Linked DNA regions of Homo sapiens: regions 1, 3, 4 and 5 are each linked to region 2. Evidence: promoter capture Hi-C in human tissues and cell types (Jung and others, 2019). All regions are on one chromosome and are shown on one strand. Each heading gives the region's core, a stretch centred on a gene start or on the middle of the fragment in contact. The rest is flanking DNA. Distances are from core to core; before and after follow the strand shown.

Region 1 (3,868 bases), core at 1,242-3,741, 190 kb before region 2:
ACACCTCTGACCATCTCAGGAGAACTGTTTAGAAATAAGTACTTTAATACCATTGTCTTAGCTTAGTAAAAATAAAACACAAGCAAAAAGACAAGTGTAAGACTTGACTTTGAGTGTGGAAATGTGTCCGTTGCTCAGTAAATACAATGCAAATGCAATTGCATATTGGAGACAAAATCATCTGGTTAGGCAGAGAAAACCTCCTTTCATAGCTGATTGATTGTACAATGTTAGTTTAGGAGACAAAACTTAAGGCCACGAGTTTAGTTTAAGATAGTTTTGGAGAAGAAAGGACATCTTGTTCCCAAAAGGGGTATACTAATCTGCTGATATTTTTATAAAAACTTGATCAATTTCCTGAGGTGAACGATGCCAAGATTCTTCTGTTATCTATTAGTTACCCAAAAGAAAACCAGACTTTATTAAGTTTAGAAAGCTTCCCAAGACATGTTTTATTTCCCAGTTAAAATAATATTTAAAAGTTCCAAAATATGAAGCTTTGCTACTATCATCAGCATTTTAATCCTTTTCCCATAAAAAATTCAGTCCTCAAGAACTGATTTTTACCATTTGATTTTTAAAATTAAATTTTGCATTAAAAATAGGCCATTAGAGTATCTATTTTAATAAGCCAAAGGAAAAAATGTTGGTAAGGTAGACTAGTACTTCCAGTAGAACTCTTCATCTGTAAGAACCATTTAGGCAAGAACTATTTAGGCAGCCCCCTGCACGTAAATAGATCAGAGACGAGCCAGTCAGACAAGAGCATTTCCAGCTGGTGTCCCCGTCTTATTACAGGCTTCCTTAGAGGATGGGGGTAGCATGGAGAGGAGAGCTACATCTCAGCTGGGCAACAGGAGGGTAGCAGGGGGAAGCTGGGCTCTGAGGTCCCCAGGGACAGACAGCTGGACCTGTGCAAATCATAGGTTTTCTAGGTCAGTAGTATTTACAGTTAAATAAACTTCCTGGACTAGCCTGGCAAAGTAAACCTTCCTTTTTTGGATGATTTCTGTGGGTCAAACACATTTTGAATTGGCTTACAAACATTCCACCCCTACCTCCTGCCAGTCTCTTTGGGACTGGCACCTCCATCCACCCAGCTTCCCAGCTGAGAAACCCAGCCTGGACACTTTACTCCCGTGCCCCCTGCTGTGCTGTGATGGCATCTCCCCGCTGTACTCACCACAGAGCTCCCATCCAGACAATCTTCAGGGGGCATTAAGTCCACATCATTGCTCTCTCCTGAAGCTGACTGTCTTTCCCAGACCACTGTTAACACCTTTGCCCAGCTCCTGTCTCCTCGTGTGCCAAAGGGTCATTCCTTTACCCCACCCATCCACTCTCCTGCTGCACCCAGAATGGCTGTCCAGTGCTAGCATCTGATTGTGGCACTCCTGTTCTTGGCATTTCTTTGTGGCTACTGACTGCCTCCTGTGTAACAGCGGAATTCCTTGGCGGGGCACTCAGTCTGGACTGAGCTCCTGCAGGGAGGCAGGACTGCATTCTCATTGCCTGGGATACAACCACAATTTGTTGAATGAATGAATATGTGAGCTTTTTTTCTAGGCTTAGGAGTGTCTGCATTTTATAATACAGATGTTCCTTGACTTATGACAGAGTTACACCCCTAAAATGCATTTAATACACCTAACCTACTGGCAATTCATAGCTTAACCCCGCCTACCTCACATGTGCTCAGAACCCTTACATTAGCCTGTAGTTAGGCAAAAGCATCTAACACAAAGCCTATTTTATGGTGAAGTGTTGAATATCTCTTGCAGTTTCTTGAATACTGAAGTGAAGAGCAGAGGGGTTGTATGGGTACTTGACAGTTTCTACGGAATACATATCACTTTTGTACCACTGTAAAGTCAAAAAATCCTAAGTTTAACCATTTAAGTTGGGGATCATTATACTTATTTGTGTATGTATAAGTAGTGAGTGGAATGTGTCAGGGGAGCAGTAGGAATTGCTAACTCATTTCAAAATCTATCTTCTTAGTGCCATGTATACAGATGATTTTTTTTAATGTATCGAGGTGAAGTTTGCATAACATGAAATTAAAGTGAACAATTCAGTGATATTTTAATACACTCACAGTGTTATACAGCCTCGTCCATTTGGTTCCAAAACATTTTCATCTCCTGCAAAGGAAACCCCTTACTGGTAAAGTTGCTGTTCCCTGCAGCAACCCGAGATAAATGCAGGTGAAGGTTAGTTTGGCTAGAGTCAGACTTTCAATCATATCTAGGTTTCTCTAATGATTTAGTAACTGATCCGTGTTTTAGGAGAGTTCATCCTGAGAGCGTGTTGCTCTTGGCTTCTCAGTGGGTTGAGCACTGCTGCGATATGACTTGGAGCACAGTTCTCTCTGTAAGTTAAGAGTTTCATCTCGTGGACCTGAACTTGGCCAGGAATGTGTATCCTCCCAGCAGCCAGTTTTTATAGGTAAACCAGCTCCACAAACTCAGTTGGCTTGTGTAAAAAACTATAACATGTTTGAGAAATAATTTTAAAAGCAGGTCTTTATTTGAAGTAATGTAAGAGAATTCTGCTCTGTAGGAGTATGTACTAATTAATTGAGATCTCTGGCATAGTTTTTATTTTTATTTTATTTTATTTTTTATTTGTTGAGATGGAGTCTCGCTCTGTTGACCAGGGTGGAGTACAGTGGCACAATCTCGGCTCACTGCAACCTCCACCTCCTGGATTCAAGCGATTCTCCTGCCTCATCCTCTCAAGTAGCTGGGATTAGAGGCGCCCATCACCACGCCCAGCTAATTTTTGTATTTTTAGTAGAGATGGGGTTTTGCCATGTTGGCCAGGCTGGTCTCGAACTCGTGATCTCGGGTGATCTGCCTGCCACGGCCTCCCAAAGTGCTGGGATTACAGGCATGAGCCACTGCGCCTGGCCTCTCTGGCATACTTAAAAACCCACTTCAGACCTAGGTTATAATCTGTATGACCTTGAATGAGAAACCTAATTTTTCACTGCCCTGATTTCCTTGACTACAAAAACACATGAATTGGGAATCTCTCTGGACCTCCTCAATCCAAGCTGTACTGCTAGGATTTTAGTCTTAAATTTCTTCCCTATTATCAAAATAAATTGTACTTACTCATTTTAGGAAATGACCAAAATATAAAAAGGGGAAAAAGTTGGCAAAAATGGCCCTACCAATTAAGGACAACCACTGTTAGCATTTTGGAGTATGTCTTTTTTTTTAAATTATCCATTTTTAAAAAAGCAGTATACAAATAACACAAATACATCCTGATCATAAAAGATCCAAACACTTACAAAGGGTTGTGAGTAAAAAGATGAAAGGTGTCTGCTATTGCCGTTCTTGTCCCTAAGGCAGCACCCTTCCTACTGGTTGTGATTTTCCTGTATGCTTTTCTGTCCTTTTTAGACAAGTGGTGGGGTCATTACAATTTTCTTTTTTAGCTCAGTTGGGATAATTCTAGGCTTATTGTTTTATAACTTTTTAAAAACAGTATTTCTTGGAGTTTTTTTTTAATTAGTACATCAGCTAGCTATTTATTTATTTATGTATTTATTTAGAGTCGATGTCTTGCTCGGTCACCCAGGCTGGAGTGCAACCCCCACCTTTCATGTTCCAGCAGTTCTCCTGCCTCAGCCTCCTGAGTAGCTGGGACTACAGATGTGCAACGCCATGCCTGGCTTATTTTTGTATTTTTAGTAGAGACGGGGTTTCACTGTGTTGGCCAGCTGGTCTCGAACTCCCGACCTCAGGTGATCTGCCTGCCTCAGCCTTCCAAAGTGCCAGGATTACAGTCCTGAGCCACCGTGTCCAGTGCTTTATTATTTTTAATGGCTGATTATCTCCTCTAAATGAGTGTATAA
Region 2 (4,261 bases), core at 1,496-3,995:
CTTGATTCTGTGCTTGATGCCCCTCGTCTGGACCGCAGAGAGGTGGCTGAAGAGCAGCATGCAGACAGTGGCCAGCCACCACCAGCTCAGGTGCTTCCTCATCGCGTCAGAACCTGCCAGAGAAACGGCGGTGGGTCAGCTCCCCACCAGGCCTGCCTGGGCTCCCCTGCCCCCTCCCAAGTGCAGGAGATTTTAAGGAAGGAATCGCATCCTTGTGCTATTTATGTGGTCTCAAAAGCATAATTGTTTCCCCATGTTTGGGTTGTGCAGGGTTAACTCAAACACCGAGCTCCTTTGCTATTGCTAGGATTACATTCACTCAGGGCTCTGGTCCCGGTTTCCGAGACAGGTAAGAATGGCAAAGGGCAATTATAGTGGCTTTGAATACGCATGGGAAAATAAAGGAGTGGTGACTTAATACATGTAGGTTTTCTTTGATACTCCCAAGTCTTTCAAATCAAGAAATCCCTGGGAGGAAAATACAATAGAAGAGTTGGAATCAAATGCTGGTGGGCATGGACTATATGTGTGTGTGTGTGTGTGTGTGTATACACGTATATATATACACATATATATGTATATATACACGTATATACACACACATATATACATATATACACACATATATGTATATATACACACATATATATATACGTATATGTACAGACACACACACATACACACACACACACACACACACACACACACACACACATATTTTAGAGACAGGATCTCACTCTGTTGCCCAGGCTGGAGTGCAGTGGCATGATCATAGCTCATTGCAGCCCTGAACTCCTGGGCTCAAGCAATCCTCTTGCCTCAGCCTCCGGAGTAGCTGGGACTACAGGCACACACTACCACACCCAGCTAATTTTTAAATACATGTTGTAGAAACGGGGTCTCACTATGTTGCCCAGGCTCAAGTGATCCTCCCACCTCAGCCTCCCAAAGTGCTGAGATTACAGGCACGAGCCACTGTGCCGACTTTAGATTGTACTTTCAATCTCCCCTCTTTGTTCTTTATTGCTCTGAGCTGGCACTGTCTTGGGGGCATTCTGCCATCCATTCTGAGGAATTCACTGGCTGCTGATCCTAAAGGGCTTTGCAGTAATGAGAGAGAGAGGAGGAGGAAGGAAGGGAAAGATGGAAACGTAGCAAAGGGACCCCTGCCTCCCCTATGTCCAGGGGTCAAGTGTGCTCCAGGCATCCTTTCCAATCTCACCCCTGGGGGACAGTGTGACCATCTGCTTATCCTACTGGCTTTTTATTGCATACTTTCTTCATGCCTGCCACCGTGTTAAGCTCTTCTCTGACATTGCCTAACTTAATTCTCACATAGAGTAGGTACATTATTATCCCCATGTTATAAATGTTGTCCTGGGATTCAGAGAAGTTAAGTAATTTGCCCAAGGCTGCACAGCGGGGAGGTGGCAGACCTGCACTGGGCTCTGTCTAATGCTGCACTGCATGTGTCCACTAGCCATGCCCCACTGCCCATCTGGGTTTCAGGAGAAGACAGTGCTCACACACTGTGCTTTTCACTCACTGGGTATGATGCCCCCTGAGCTGGGCAAAGGGCAAAGGGCAGGGCCCTTGAGGAATTTCGGAGAAAACGAGATGAAAGGGAAGACAGGAGGGCCTGGGGGAACACCAGGAGGGTCCCGGGTCAAGGTGGCCCTGGGACATCCGAAGGGCTGCCACTGATGTCATGGAAAAGCCCCTCACCCCACACCTTAAGGTTGCCTGTCACATTCGGCTCCTGAATCTACAATAGCCATCAAGGAAATCCACTTCCCAAGGCCGACTGTCAGGGCATTCTAGCACCTGGGTCTTTGCCTGTGTGGATTAGGGAAATGGAAGGAGTTCCCATACCGGAGCTTGCCTAAGCTGTCTCCTAGGCAAAGACTTACTGTGAGGCCATGGGGCCCCAGAGCTGGAGGAGGCTGACAGGGAGCTTGTTTCGCCCCTCACACACCCTCCACCACCCTGCTGCAGCTTCCCTAAAAGTGGCTAATGTTCCTCTGATAAAATGTTCAACTCTGATGCCACATTGCTCCTTATATTAAAAAAAAAAGGCAAAACACAGCTGAAGTGATCTCTAGAAGCACATCCAGTCATCTCTAGAAGCCTGCAAAGAGGCCTCACTGACCTTTCCTTGCTTGTAGACATCGCCTCGTCTTTGTCCCAGGGTGGCTATGAGCATCTGGACCCCCTCACCCCACTCTCTCTGCCTCCTGAGCACAGTGAACTCAGACTGACTTTCTCCAAAGAGATCCAAGCATGAAGCAAATATTCATTAGTCTCCTAAATAGGGCCATACTCCACATCATTCCTTTTTTAAGGAGAAATCTTAAATAAGATTAATGGCATAATAGATCATTTCAGGTGAGTCAAATAAAAAAAATAAAAGCACAGCATTCTTGAGAAAGAGATTAGTTTTCATAGGCAGAAGCTTAAAGGCAAAACAAAATCCCAACCCACAAACCCTAAAGTAGCATTTTATTATAGCACCAACTTAGAGAAAGGCAAGCCCAGTGATGACTGGGTATCCTCGCAAGTCTACCCTGAACTTGGGACCCATCCCCAGGTGTGGGAGTAAAGAAATCATTGCATGATTTTCAATCTGGGATCGAGCCTTGATAAGAAACCAGCAGTCCTGACCACAGAAGTGGCCCCCCACGTACCTTGGCTCTCTCTGGAGTGTGCCTCTGGAGCCTCGAGCTGCACAGTCCCCCAGCACACCCTCTTGGCAGCCAGGTCCGCCCAGCTATATAGGAGCTGCCGGGGGAGGTGGCATTCCTGCAGGTCTCCAAATAAGGCAGCCCTTCCCTCCCCGGCAGACCAATCAGGGCTTCCTGGACCACTCCTTCATCCTGAGAAGGATGGACCTTCTCATCACACTTTACTAAGGAAACCACGTGAAAATCTTGATGAAGTTCAGCAAGGCTTCAGAGGTGCCTTTTAGAATTGGAATGAGATGTGTTAGAAGGAAAATGCTTTTCCCATCAATATCTATGACAGATGTGGCTTCAACAAGCCTCGCTGGACATGCATAGTGTCCTGTACCTAAAGGCCGGCCTTGGACAGCAAAGCAGTCTTTGCTGACAGCCTCTGTGGGGAGGTTCAGCTCAAAAAGAGGGCAAGCGTTCACCTGGACCACCACGCCCTGAGGATGGGACCAACAGGGTGTGTGTGTGGTGGTGGGGGGGGGGGGCGCCGGGGGGCGGTTACACTTTCATCGGGTAGTGGGAAAACAGAACTGGTAGGTATGGGGTGGAAGACACGTGAGAAGACTTCCTGGCATGTTGGGCGAGGAATGCTTGAAGGACTGAATTAGCCCAAAGGCCAATAAGTTAAAGATCTGCGGGAACCCCGGGAGCAGAGACACATTGACACGCAGCCAGTCCCCTGGACAGGTGGTGCGGGCTGAGGGCGAGTTCTGCAGAGTGCCTTCTCCTCTACATGGTGTCCGAGCGCTGCGCAGAAGGGGCTGGAGGTGCATTCCTGGGCTTTCCAAAGCAAGAGACTCATTGGTATTGGGTGACCATTTTGGGCCTTATACAGAAGGGACTTGCTCAGGTGTCCCTGTTACAGTTAGTACTGCAAGGCAAAGTCAAAAGTGAATATGGGAGCAAGTATGGGGCCAGATTTTCCTGTAAACAGAATGCGATTTTTATGCTGAATGTGACCCCGTCAGTGTTCACGGTGGATTTGCGTCAGAGCAATTTTGCAAACCAAATTAAACGGTTGTTATCGAGAAGGACAGCAGATAGCGCCAGAGAGCTGACAAAGACCGCAGCCGGTCGGTGGGAAACCCGGGCTTCTGGGCTCTGGGTGGATTTGGGGCCTCCGGTTGGGCCTTTCTTTCTCCTCTGACTTTAACATTTGTTTCACTTCCCCACTTTTTTTTTTTTAAGAACTTTTCTATTTCCTTTCTAGAACCACAGACTTTTTGTGCTTCTGAATACACACAAAACAGAAACACAGTAGTGTAATCTTAGTACAGACTGTTTGCAAAATGGAGATGAAAAAATCAAAATCTCCTAATAGTTCAGTACCCAGAGACAAATGTCAGGACAATTTTGTTTCACATATAGATACTTAGGGCCACAGTGTTTAGAGCTAGAAAGGACTCAGAATTCTGTGGTCCAGCTCCTTTGCATGGTGAGCTCACAGGCCCAGATAGGCTCAAGGTCACCCAGCCAGGCCGGCAGTGCAGCCTCGGCAGGCTCGTTGTCCCATTGTGAACTCTGTGCACTAT
Region 3 (4,158 bases), core at 1,030-3,529, 160 kb after region 2:
CATTTATACAGCATTCTTGAAATGACAAAATTATAGAAGTGGAGAACAAATTAGTAGGTAGCTGGGAATTAAGGAGAGAATGGGAGTAGGAGGGAAATAGACGTGGCTATAAAAGGGCAACATGAAAGACACTTGTGATAAAAATGTTCCGTATCTTGACTGTGTCAATGTCAATATGCTGATTGTACTGTTGTACTATAGTTTTGTAAGATGTTACACTGGGGGAAACAGACAAAGGACCCATGGGATCACTCTGCCTTATTTCTTAGAACTGCATCTGAACCTACCGTTTTCTCAAAACAAAGAGTTTAATTTTAAAAAAGAAGCTAAAAATATTCCAGCCATTGGGAGCCCTTCAGTTGGCTCCTGTGTCCCTTTGACTTAATGTGGCTTTTTGCTCATTTTGCCAACTTTAACACCACATGAATCATTCTATTCTTCCTCCTTTATATGTCAGCAATCTCCTACACTAACAGGAAGAAATCTGACTCCCAATATCCACCCTCTAATTACTTAATGGTTCAGTACCAGTATACATGTCAACCAGTATCAGAATTGTGAACCCATAACCCCTTGGGAAACAACTTTATCGACTACAGTACCATGCTTATATAGAATCCCTTTTGCCTTTAGTCTTACAGTCTCCACTCATTTCCAAGGTTACTTAGGTCAGCATCTCCCCCTGCCCAAACGCACCCTTCAATAAGGGTATTTCACACATTTGTAATACAATTAGACTTTTTTTCCTCATAGTCTGCATTTCATCATGGGATCTCCCAACCTCTTAAGTAATTTTCTTTTAATTTGTGTATATTAATGTTCACTCTTTGTATCAAGTTCTATTTATCTGTCATTACAGCATCATACATAATAGTCACTCCCAAAATAATTCCCTGAGCTCCACCTATTCAAATCCTTCCTCTCATCTGAACCCTGGTAACCACAGACCTGTTTACCATCTCTATAGTTTTGCCTTTTCCAGAATGTCATATAAATGGAATCATATATTATGTAGGCTTTTAAAATTGGCTTTATAAGCTTAACAATGTGCTTTTAATCCATACATGTTTTGCTTGGCTTGTTTATTCCTGTTTATTGCTATTGTATTGATGTACCACAGTTTATCTATTTACCTATTGAAGGACATTTGGGTTGCTTTCAGTTTTCAGTGATTATGAGTAAAGCTGCTGTAAACATTCACATACAGGCTTTTATGTGGACATAAGTTTTCAAATCAGTTGGATGAATGCCTAGGATTGTGACTGTTGTATTGTATAATAAGACTATGTTTAGCTCTACAGAAAAACCTGCAAAACTCTCTTCTAAAGGGGTGGTACTATTTTGTATTTCCACCAACAATGAATGAGAGTTCATGTTGCTCTACAACCTTACTAGCACTTAATATTGTCAATATTTTCTATTTTAGCCACTCTAATAGGCACGCAGTGTCATTTCATGTTGGTTTACTTTGCAATTCTCTAATGACAAATAATATTAAACACCTTTTCATATGTTTATTTGCCATCTTTTTTGGTGAGATGTCTGTTCAGATCTTTTGCCCATTTTAAATATGGGATTGTTTTCTTACTGTTGAATTTTAAGAGTTTTTAATGTATTTTGGATACAAATCCCATATTAGGTATATGGCTTAAAAATAAGTCCTTCCAGTCTATGGCTTATCTTTGATCTCTTCACAGTGTCGTTTTTAGAGTAAAAGCCTTTAATTTTAATAAAGTCTAATTTAAACTCTTTCTTTCAATGAATTATGCTTTTAGTGAGTCTAAAAACTCATTAGCAAACTCAAGGCCACATAGATTTTTGTCCTATGTTTTCTTCTAGATGTTTTAAAGTATTACATTTCATATTTAGTTCTATCATTCATTTTGGGTTAATTGTTGTAAAAGGTATAATCAGTGCTTAGACTTTTTTTGTTTTTTCCATTTAGAAGTTCAATTGTTGCAAAACAATTTGTTGAAAAAATTATCCTTTTTCCATTGAATTGCCTTTGCTCCTTTTTCAAAGATTAGTTGACTAAATTTGTGTGAATCTATTTTAGGGGTCTCTATTTTGTTCCATTGATCTATGGGTCTGTTCTTTAACCAATACCACGCTGTCTTGATTACTGTGGATTTATAGTAAGTTTTGAATTCTGGTAGTGTCAGTCTTCCAACTTTGTTCTTCTTTAGTATCATGGTGTCTATTCTGGGTCTTTTGTCTTTCTCTATAAACTGTAGAATTAGTCTGACAATATATACCAAATAAGTTGCTGGAATTTTGATTGGGACTGTATTGGATCTATAGATCAAGTCAGGTGTTATCAAGAATTGACATCTTAACTATATTGAATCTTCCAATCCATGAACATGGAATATCTCTCCATTTAGTTAGATCTTGTATTTCTTTCATCAGAGTTTTATAGTTTTCTGCAAATAGATTATACACATATTTACCTAAGTATTTCATTTTTAGGGTGGTATTGTGATATTGCATTTTTAATATTAAATTTCAATTGGTTCATTGCTGGTGTACAGGAAGGTAATTGATTTTTATATATTAACTTTGTATGCTGTGACTTTGCTGTAATCAATAATTTTTTTTGTTGGTTTTTTGGGAATCAACAAAAAGCTCCTGATTATAGGTGTTTTTTTCAAAGACCATTTTATTTCTTCTTTCCCAATCTGTATACATTTTGTTACTTTTTTTTTTTTTTTTTGCACAAAGTAGGACTTTTAGTACATGCTGAATAGGACTGATGAGAGAAGACATCCTTTCTTTGTTTTCCATCTTAAGGAGAAAGTATGTGGTTTCTCATTATGAAGTATGATATTAGCAGGAGATACTGCAGTGCAGGTGTTGCTGTGTGCTCTCCTCTGTGTCCTCCAGCCATAGAACAGAGACAGCTTTATACCAGCTGCAGCCCTGAGTAGCCATCCCAACTCTTCTCAATGTTCTTATTTGAAGGCTTTTCTTCTAAAAACAACATTGCAGTTAATGTCTTGTACACTGAACATTGCCCAATCAGTAAGTAGATCTGTAAGGTATGGTCCTCATAACAGAATTGCTGGGTCGAAAATATACACATTTGTAATTTCAGTAGATATAGCCAAGTTGCCTTTTGCAATGTGCATTTCCACTGCAGTGCATGAAAATGACCATTTTCCACACACTTGCCAATATCATATGAGCCCATAGGCAAGTTACTAAATTATCTGTACTTTAGTTCCTTCATCTGTAAAAGGGGGTAATAATGAGATTCACCTCATGGAGTTACTGTGAGCACTAAAGATGTGTTAAGTATTTGCATCAGTGCCGGGCACATAGTACATGTTCTATAATTACTAGTAATTATTCTTACAATTGTCAAATGTTTTGATATCTGACAATGTGGGTGGTGAAAAGTAGTACATTTTGTTGTAGTAGTTTAAATTAACATTTATATTAAGTGAGATTAGGCGTTGTTTCAATTGTTTTAAAACCATTTGCACTTCTTTTTTGTGAATTGCTGGTGCAAATCCTTTTACACACACATATCGCTTCTGCTCATGTGCCATTGGCTAGAATTAGTCATGTGGTTACCCCTAGATACAAAGATGGTACTGCTTGGAAATATAGTGCATTGGGCTGCCTCTTTACAGTGACCGTTTCATACTGTGATTTGTTTCCATATTTGTGCCTACCCCCACTTTTTTGGACTAAGATAGCTGACAGTTTATTTAATTTCGCATTTTTTCAAACAATTAGTTAATAAAGTAATTTATTAATTTTATTATTTTTTGTTTTTCTATTTTAAATTTATGTTTCTGTTTTATATTAAATTTTTCTTTCAATATGTAATGTTTAGGTTTATTTTGATATTTTTCAATACTTGTGACTGGGACCTTTATTTATTTTCATTTGATCTCAATTATTAATATATTGAAGGCTAAAAGTTTCCTCTGAACACTGCTTTAGCTATGTCTCATATGTTATCATATATCTTCATATTCTACACAATTGTCAGTTCTGAAATTTTCTTTTTTAGTTCAGAATTATTTAAATGAAAAAAATTAAATTTTTTATTTTATTGTACATTTCTAGATGTATTGCATTAGTATCAGAGAATGGTATTTGATTACAGCTCTAATTGTGTCTTATTTGAATCAACTGTTCTAATATAGA
Region 4 (4,071 bases), core at 563-3,062, 160 kb before region 2:
GCCTGCAAGAGGAAAGGTGGTGATGGCAGGGGCCGGTGTTGGGGTGTTGGCACTGACCACGGGGCCCACCCTGGAGCTGCCTGGGTGGGAGGAGAGTGGCAATGGGGAGGATGAAGAAGCCACTGGCTGTGGCTGCATGGCACAGGAAACCTTTGCAAACTGGGGCTTTTTCTTCTAGGTGTGCCTGCATTTACTCATGTGCTGTATGTCTATGGAAAAGACTGTTAAGCTGTCAAATAGTGAACTACCTCGGTAGTTCCCGATGCCGTGATCATGGTTTTGGTCTCGTTTCTTTTAGGTTACCCCTGTTTCAGGCCAGTGCTTTTGCATTTTTGGCCCCTGCTCGAGCCATCCTGTCTTTAGATAAATGGAAATGTAACACCACAGGTAATTGCAGTTATTTCCACATATGTCATTGGGGTCCTTTAATGCAGGTGTAAAGGGAGGCCTGGACGTGCTGCCCTCAGCAGCGCTAAATCCTTTCAAGAATTAGGGACAAAGCACACAAACCCACAAACAGCTTAGAATGCTCCATCTGTGGATCGTGTCTGTCTCTCTCTTTCTGTCCACTTGTTCATCCCTAACCCTAGAGCAAGAAAGGATCAGAATTGACCTCATTTCTCTATGTTAATGAAATTGACAAATATGGGAACGGAATAGAAAAATATTTGTGCTATTTTTCTGCCTCTCTCTTTCAGTGGATTTTATGACCCACCAGTAATCACTCTCTTTGCTGCGTCAGCATCCCTTCTCTGAAACATCTTTGCTTTTTAAGGATCTGGCTACTGTGGTTTGCTGCAAATGACTTTCATTCCCCTTCTTTAGTGATTGCAAAGATCCTTAAGGAACCCGATAAGGTCAGGAAAAGATAGGGAATTTAAGAAAATTAGAGTCAGACCTGTACTCTCAAAAATACAATTACATTTTGACCTTCTAGGAGCAAAGTTTTCCAGCCTTCATTTCCTTCCTTGCTCCTAGGAGTTACTTTGTGACCACTGATTTGATCTGGGAACTGGAAAAGGCCCTCTGTTTTATCTAAGTTTTTCAAACCTCAGTCCAGCAACCTTGCTGTCGGGCATTTCAATGAGCTGTGTGCAAAGGTTGGTTTTTTTGTGTGAGGCTGGTGCTAGTAACGTGTATCACCACTTCAGTTAGCTTTTGACAATTTGGGGAGCTCTTAGTCGATGAATTCATTTGGTTAAATTAGCATTTGAGGATCCACCTTTCAGTGAGATAAGCTATACTGTTGGAGGTTGAATTTTAGGGATGGGGATTGAAACAGATGTAATAAAAACAGGGAGAAAATTCTTCTTAAAAGGTAAAATGAATATGTCATGTGAGACATCAGTGTCACTCCAAGAAAAACTTTGTTTTTGTTTTCAAGATGTTTCAGTTGCCAATGGAACAGCAGAGCTGTTGCACACAGAACACATCTGGTATCCCCGGATCCGAGAGGTAAAAGACAAGCGTTGTCTGCTTTTGGCTTCTTCATGTTTCTTCTCAGCTTCAATGTTGGTTGACCCAAGAAATAGCAGTTACTTTTACTGAGCCCTTCTTTTCTTTTTCAATTACTGATAGTTTATTTCTCTTGTTTAAGTAAATGTAGTTAAGCAATACTCTAAAATAAAGCATATGGAAATGCTCTGGGCAACCTTAAGGAATGGTTTCCTCCCTCCTGCACACCCACAGACCTGTCCACTCACACCCGCCAGCACAGCTAGCTGAGGTTCGTGGCTCACTGGATGGAGCTACAGAGGCTCATCATCGACAGATAGCAGAATTGTTCGCTCTGGCCTCAGTGTTTGCCTGTGTTCATTGAAAGAACTAAAGATATTTGTCTGCCAAAGTGCAATTGAACAGAAGCAGACATGAAGTACGGCTGACAGTGTATTAATATTTTCCAAAACGTGTGAGATAATTCACCATCAGTTCAGAATGAGCACAGATGTGGCCATTCTGCACACTAAAAACATCCCTTTAGAATTTCTGTCAACAACATTGTCTTGTCGATGTCCTGGGGGGCTCACTCTTTAAAGCTGAGAGTCTTTATGCTGCAGTGTTCCTCTAAGGCTGGTCTTTAAATGTTGTGTTTCTTAAAAGGGAATTATAAATTTTTGCCTGCATCGTTTAACAGTGAAAAAGGCATGTGGGCCGTGTGTCCAGGACCTATTTCTGTAATACACCTGCATCATGAATGCAGGCCCCAGTTAGTGCCCCCTGAAGTTTCTTGTCGGGTCCTGGGGAATTTTCTAGCTATCTCTCCCAAGTTAGATGATGTAATAACTTATTGCCTTGCAGAATTATCAGTTGTGGTTGTAGGTGACATTCTGAGTGTGCAGTGTACAAGCAGCTCACTCTCATGTCTGTGCCATCTCTTGTTGCAGATCCAGGGGGCCATCATCATGTCCTCACTGATAGAAGTAGTCATCGGCCTCCTCGGCCTGCCTGGGGCTCTACTGAAGTACATCGGTCCCTTGACCATTACACCCACGGTGGCCCTAATTGGCCTCTCTGGTTTCCAGGCAGCGGGGGAGAGAGCCGGGAAGCACTGGGGCATTGCCATGCTGTAAGTGGAAACATCTCCCCTCATCCCACCACTGCGGGGCAGCCTTTAGGAACATTCACACAGACTTCAGGAGATAATGTTTTTCAATAATAAGAATGGTCTGACAGTTTCAACTTTATTTGCTTCGTGCTGGGGAATAGTTGAAGGGTTTTTGACCCAGAGTTTGGGAAGTGACATATAGTTGACGTATTACAAAGACAGACTTAGCAGCAATATGAAGAGGGTGGATTGTAAGTTTTTAAGCTTTGGTAGTGGGGTAAGGTAGTGGCGCCATTTGTTTTTGACTTTTGAGGTCTTGCCAAGTCTCATGTTCATGAGTTGACATACTGAGAAGCCAAATTTTTATATCATGAGACTCAAAAATATTCCAGAGTGGCAGGAATCTGGAGTATTTCCAGAGAAGTCGTGGGAAAGGTCTGTTGCCATTGATGATGTGACTCTTCTCCCCAGGCCACACTGAGCTCTGCACTCCTGACGGGTGGGTGGTTGGGGGAGGGACATAGTTTCTGCCAGGGTCCTGCTAGTCAGTGCCTGTCCTTTTGTACAGAATGTCACATCCATTAAAGATGTCCCTTGCCCTTTAAGTAAAGTTAACATTTTGTGTTAATGAAGTCACAGGGGAGTTTGATAATATTACTGATGATTAGAGTCACAGAACTCTTTGTAACACAGAGCCCACATTCTCTATGTGTCTGCAGAGCATGTTTAAGAGTTGATTATGTGTAGGTATATGGTTCCATTACTCTGGAATTTAACCAGCCAGTACAACTCCTAAAACAAAATAAGTCATCACATAAGAGAATTTTTCATTTGCTCTGTTTTGTGAAATAGTCTGCAGTTATTTAATAACAGGTGGTATTTATTGATCTTTTACTATGCATCAGTCCTTTATATAACACTTGTATATAGTATCAGATAAGGCACATCCTAGTGTTATCCCATTTAACAGCAGAGGACACTGAGCACCACGACGTAATGTGATTTGCCCAGAGTCATACAGTGAATTAAGTGGCCACCGTGGGTTTCAAAACCCAGGTGGTGGACATGGGCCCGAACCCATCATACTCAATCCTGTTCTGTGTATTAGAACATGACGTACAAATAAAAGGGAACCATAGCAGAATTGTTATCTACACTTTACAAATTAAATTAAGGTGTGTGAAAATATCAAGTTTTTTTTTTTCTTTAAACAAGGTTTGAAGGAGACACATCTCACACATGAGCATGAATACCCATCATCATGCTTTCCCAAAATTGTTCTTTTTTTGCAATGGAGTCTCGCTCTGTTGCCCAGGCTGGAGTGCAGTGGTGCGATCTTGGCTCACTGCAACCTCCACCTCCCGAGTTTAAGCAATTCTCCTGCCTCAGCCTCCCGAGTAGCTGGGATTACAAGCACCCACCACCACACCCGGCTAGTTTTTGTATTTTTAGTAGAGACGGTTTCACCATGTTGGCCAGGCTGGTCTCAAACTCCTGACTTCAGGTGATCTGCCCACCTTGGCCTC
Region 5 (4,065 bases), core at 380-2,879, 180 kb after region 2:
TTTAATGATTACAGTATATATTATTTCCCACTTGTCCTGGACATAGAGACAAACAATTGTAAGGATTTACACAGACAGTTGGGCAGTAGCTAATTTTTTGGGTGAAGGTTAGGAACTCAGAGAATGATTCAAACATGAACTATAAGGAAGTTCAGGAAACATATGTGGGTCCAAAATATGAGCATATTTCTATCCTGCATACATAGTACTAGAAATCCCTCACTTCAGAAGAATACTTTAATAACCAAACAAGGATGGTCTTATCTCCTCTGGATGTCAGTCATCCACCTGCCCCAGCCACCTGTGGTGTTGCTCACATTGCCCATGACCAGGGAAGCTATAGCGAAATAAACTTTCCCTTGCCACCACTGCTGACACCCCAATGTGGCAGCAAAACAATTATCCTCAAGACCCTTACATGAAGCCATACTGAATACCTGGTAGCCAGTAATTCCACTGGACCCTTTTCATCACAGAACATGCAGTCATTATTTTTCTTATCAAACTATTAATAAACACGTCTGGGAGCTGAGTTTTCTGTTCTTACACACGGATGTACTGAGAGCCTTGTTCACTATTATGGCTTCTATTCCATACTACACTTATCCTAAATAGGGACTCACCTCAGTGTGCAAAATGGAAGACAATGAGCTGATGGGATACACTGGTCTTATCACATTATGTTCCCTATAACCCAGAAGTAGCTGACCTCATAAAATGGTGGAATGTCCTGTTAAAGACACAGAAAAAGCAAAAGAAGGACTTCTGAGGAATTAGAGGCTTTCAGGAGTGAAACATTGGTTACTCCACTTGGAAGGAATCCTACTGACTGAAAGACTGAATAAGGGCAAAACAACATCAAATGGGCAGGATTCACACATAATAGCTACGGCATAGTGACCAGCTGCATAAAGACCAGTTAGTCATGGTGAAATCTATCTTTTAGTCCATAGGTTACAAAATTGTGAGATGGTATTATGGCAGACCTAGAGGATGAATAAAAAATACCCAATAACATAGAAGCAAACACTGAGGCAAGAATTTGGGTTCATGCCATTTAAGAGGTGACTCTAGGAAGTATCAGTAGGACAGTGGGAACATGAGATTGAGGAAGAGAAAGTGCAGGCAATAAAGGATACACTACTGTGCATATTATCAGTGTGAGCAACTGGAGCATAATCCCAAAGGATTAAGCACTCTGGAAAACTGTAGAATATACACCTAAGAGTTCTTCCAATAGTTCCAGAAAGGGTGAGGAAAAACATATATTTGTCTATTAGTTCCTTTAGTCATTGGTTGAGGGCTGCTCCCAAAGTGGTGATAACTTTTAGACATTTCCTTCCCTACCCCAAAAATGGTCAAAGAAGTCTCCAGTGGCCAGAGAGAGCCTACAGGCAAAGAGTGCTGGCAGTTGGAAGTCAGGGCCAGCATGTACTGAAATAGTACATGGTAAAGAGATATGAGATGCACTTAGAGATTCTATCCTGGGAGAACAGGGGCCTGGAGGCCTTGATTCTAGGTGCAATAGCTGGCTGAGACTTTCAGGAAGGAGTACAGTTGAAGGTTTACGTGGTATGATTTTGTAATGTTAGATGGCAGCATTTGTAAAATTCTGTGAATGGAGATATGGACAAATGGATAGCTGAGGAATAAATGTAGTGGATATCTATGGCTTCCATCTGCCCAGCATCTCTTTCTTTGGGAGAATTGCAGGCCCCCCTCCCTTTCCTTCATGCCCTGCCACCAATATTCTCTTCTGGTAGAGAAACTCATCAGAGGATAACCCACACTCCTGCTCTACTGACCACAGGTGTTGAGCACATGCCCAAACTAGGCCAAATTCCTTCTCTTGGGAGCATCTGAGTGGGAATGCACAGGGAGGTAAGATGGTTGGTTCTGGAGTTGTATGAAGGTAACAGTGTAATGATGAAGTCTGGGAATTTCTGTCTGTGAGATCCCTGAATCTTTCCTGACTACATACTTCCAGAGACTGGTTTATTAAGCTCTTTAGTTCTATAAACTACCAAGCATATTTTCAATAAACCCCTCTTTTGCTTAAATTAGGGTCAGTTTAGATGCCTTACCTCCAAACAAGCTGAACTCAGGCAAACATTCAAAGTTCCCTGGATGTCAAAGCAAAAAATTGCCTGTATAAGAAATTACATGAGTCCTATTTCCAAATAATTTTAGGTTTATTTTCCCCAGATTATATTAATTTCTCTGAACAAAATGGGACTTGAAGGCAGATGGAAACTTAAAGCTAAGTATCTGCCTCTTTCATGTTCAAAAGGAGAGGAATTCGTTAAAGAACTAAAAGACCAAAACATGGACATGGAACTAACTGTGATACAAATTGATTAAGCTTCAAAGTGCTGAAATCTTTAGAAGATGGAAATCGATAAAGAGGGAGAAACTGGGGAAGTTTCTTTAGCATTAATCTTTCTGAACCACTCTTAGGAGAAATATACATCCTTCCCCAAGGAGAAGGCACTTTGGAGGTCCTGTAGATTGCCCAGTTGAGGAAGGGCGGGAGGAGAGGGATGCATGAAACCCAATAAGCAGGCAGCCTGAGTTGGTAGTCAGCTCACCTTCCAACTGGGAATTTCTTTGCCTATTGGAGAGGAAATTTGGCAGCAGCTGACTTTTGGATAATAATGAGCTGTTGCAAATAAATGCCAAGGAATGTTAAATGGCCCATGATGTACCAATCTACACTGATTTATTGTCAATGGCTAATGAGAGGGTAAAACTTAATTAAACACTTTAAGATATGGCTGATTTAAGAGTCCTAATATTGTGTAAAATTGTAAATATCTTCCCAATTCAATTGCAAGACTTTAAAGATAAACCTTTTAAATTTGTATTTAATACCTGTCTTAGTTTGGATTGCCCCAGAAGCAGAGCCTAAGATCTCTAGAAATAACTCATTTTGCATAAAAGAAACTCTGTACCCTTTGACCAACATCACTTCATTCCCCTTCCCCCACAGTCCTTGGCAACCACAATTCTGCTCTCCACTTCTGTAAGTTTGACTGTTTCAGATTCCATCTATAAGAGAGATCATGTAGTATTTCTGTTTCTGTGTCTTGCTTATTTCACTTAGCATAATGCCTTCCAGCTCCATTCTTATTGTCACAATTGGCAGGGTTTCCTTCCTTTTTAAGGCTGAATAATATTCTGTTGTACACATACACCATATTTTCTTTATGCATTCATCCATCAAAGGACATTTAAGTTGTTTCCATATCTTGGCTATTGTGAATAATGTGCAATGAACATGGGAGTACAGATATCTCTTTGCAAACATGGGTTTTTTTGTTTTTTGTTTTGTTTGTTTTTTGAGATGGAGTCTGGCTCTGCTGCCCAGACTGGAGTGCAGTGGCCCGATCTTGGCTCATTGCAACCTCTGCCTCCCGGGTTCCAGTGATTCTCCTGCCTCAGCCTCCTGAGTAGCTGCGACTACAGGTGTGCACCACCATGCCCAGCTAATTTTCATATTTTTAGTAGAGATGGGGTTTCACCATGTTGGCCAGGCTGGTCTCAAACTCGTGACCTCAAATGATCCAACCACCTCAGCCTCCCAAATCGCCGGGATTACAGGCATGAGCCACCATGCCTGGCCTTTTTTTTTTTTTTTTTTGAGACTGAGTTTCCCTCTGTCGCCCAGGTGGGAGTGCAGTGGCACGATCTCAGCCCATGGCAGCCTCTGCCTCCCATGTTCAAGTGATTCTCCCGCCTCAGCCTCCCTAGTAGCTGGGATTACAGGAGTGTGCCACCACACCTGGCTAATTTTTGTATTTTTAGTAGAGACGGGGTTTCATCATGTTGGCCAGGCTGGTCTCGAACTCCTGACCTCAAGTGATCCACCTGCCTCTGCCTCCCAAAGTGCTGGGATTACAGTCATGAGCCACTGTACCTGGCCTACAAACCTGCTTTCAATTCCTTTGGATATACACGCAGAAGTAGGATTGCTGTACCATATACTAGTTCCATTTTTAATTTTTTTGAGGAACCTCCATACTGTTTTCCATAATGGCTGTAGTAATTTACATTCCCACTAACAAT

What was found. The method cuts DNA at HindIII sites, captures the fragments that hold promoters and counts their contacts. A contact is called where the count stands out against the background at its distance.
Region 1: a contact is called between a fragment that was not itself captured here and the fragment with the promoter of PRND in region 2, in 2 of the 25 tissues and cell types used here (dorsolateral prefrontal cortex and pancreas).
Region 3: a fragment that was not itself captured here is called in contact with the fragment with the promoter of PRND in region 2 in 3 of the 25 tissues and cell types used here (H1 embryonic stem cells, aorta and mesenchymal stem cells).
Region 4: a fragment that was not itself captured here is called in contact with the fragment with the promoter of PRND in region 2 in 1 of the 25 tissues and cell types used here (IMR-90 fibroblasts).
Region 5: a contact is called between a fragment that was not itself captured here and the fragment with the promoter of PRND in region 2, in 2 of the 25 tissues and cell types used here (aorta and spleen).

What each region holds. Positions count from the first base shown.
Region 1 is chr20:4,914,712-4,918,579 of GRCh38, reverse strand. All of the region lies in intron 3 of SLC23A2 (solute carrier family 23 member 2), which reads left to right. Among named protein-coding and RNA genes, the nearest start is that of SLC23A2, 85 kb to the left of the region's middle. The HindIII fragment of the contact is 4,047 bases long and covers 468-3,868 here.
Region 2 is chr20:4,720,393-4,724,653 of GRCh38, reverse strand. It overlaps PRND (prion like protein doppel), which reads right to left and starts at 2,745. Exons shown (of 2, transcript NM_012409.4): 1 at 2,685-2,745; 2 at 1-113. The coding sequence starts at 102. RefSeq lists an enhancer at 3,823-4,042. The HindIII fragment of the contact is 13,371 bases long and covers 1,012-4,261 here.
Region 3 is chr20:4,556,387-4,560,544 of GRCh38, reverse strand. No RefSeq gene overlaps it. Among named protein-coding and RNA genes, the nearest start is that of PRNP, 130 kb to the left of the region's middle. The HindIII fragment of the contact is 5,419 bases long and covers 1-4,158 here.
Region 4 is chr20:4,882,137-4,886,207 of GRCh38, reverse strand. SLC23A2 (solute carrier family 23 member 2) reads left to right here. Exons shown (of 17, transcript NM_005116.6): 7 at 299-387; 8 at 1,385-1,455; 9 at 2,385-2,566. Among named protein-coding and RNA genes, the nearest start is that of RASSF2, 61 kb to the right of the region's middle. The HindIII fragment of the contact is 6,046 bases long and covers 1-4,071 here.
Region 5 is chr20:4,538,148-4,542,212 of GRCh38, reverse strand. No RefSeq gene overlaps it. Among named protein-coding and RNA genes, the nearest start is that of PRNP, 150 kb to the left of the region's middle. The HindIII fragment of the contact is 4,645 bases long and covers 1-3,951 here.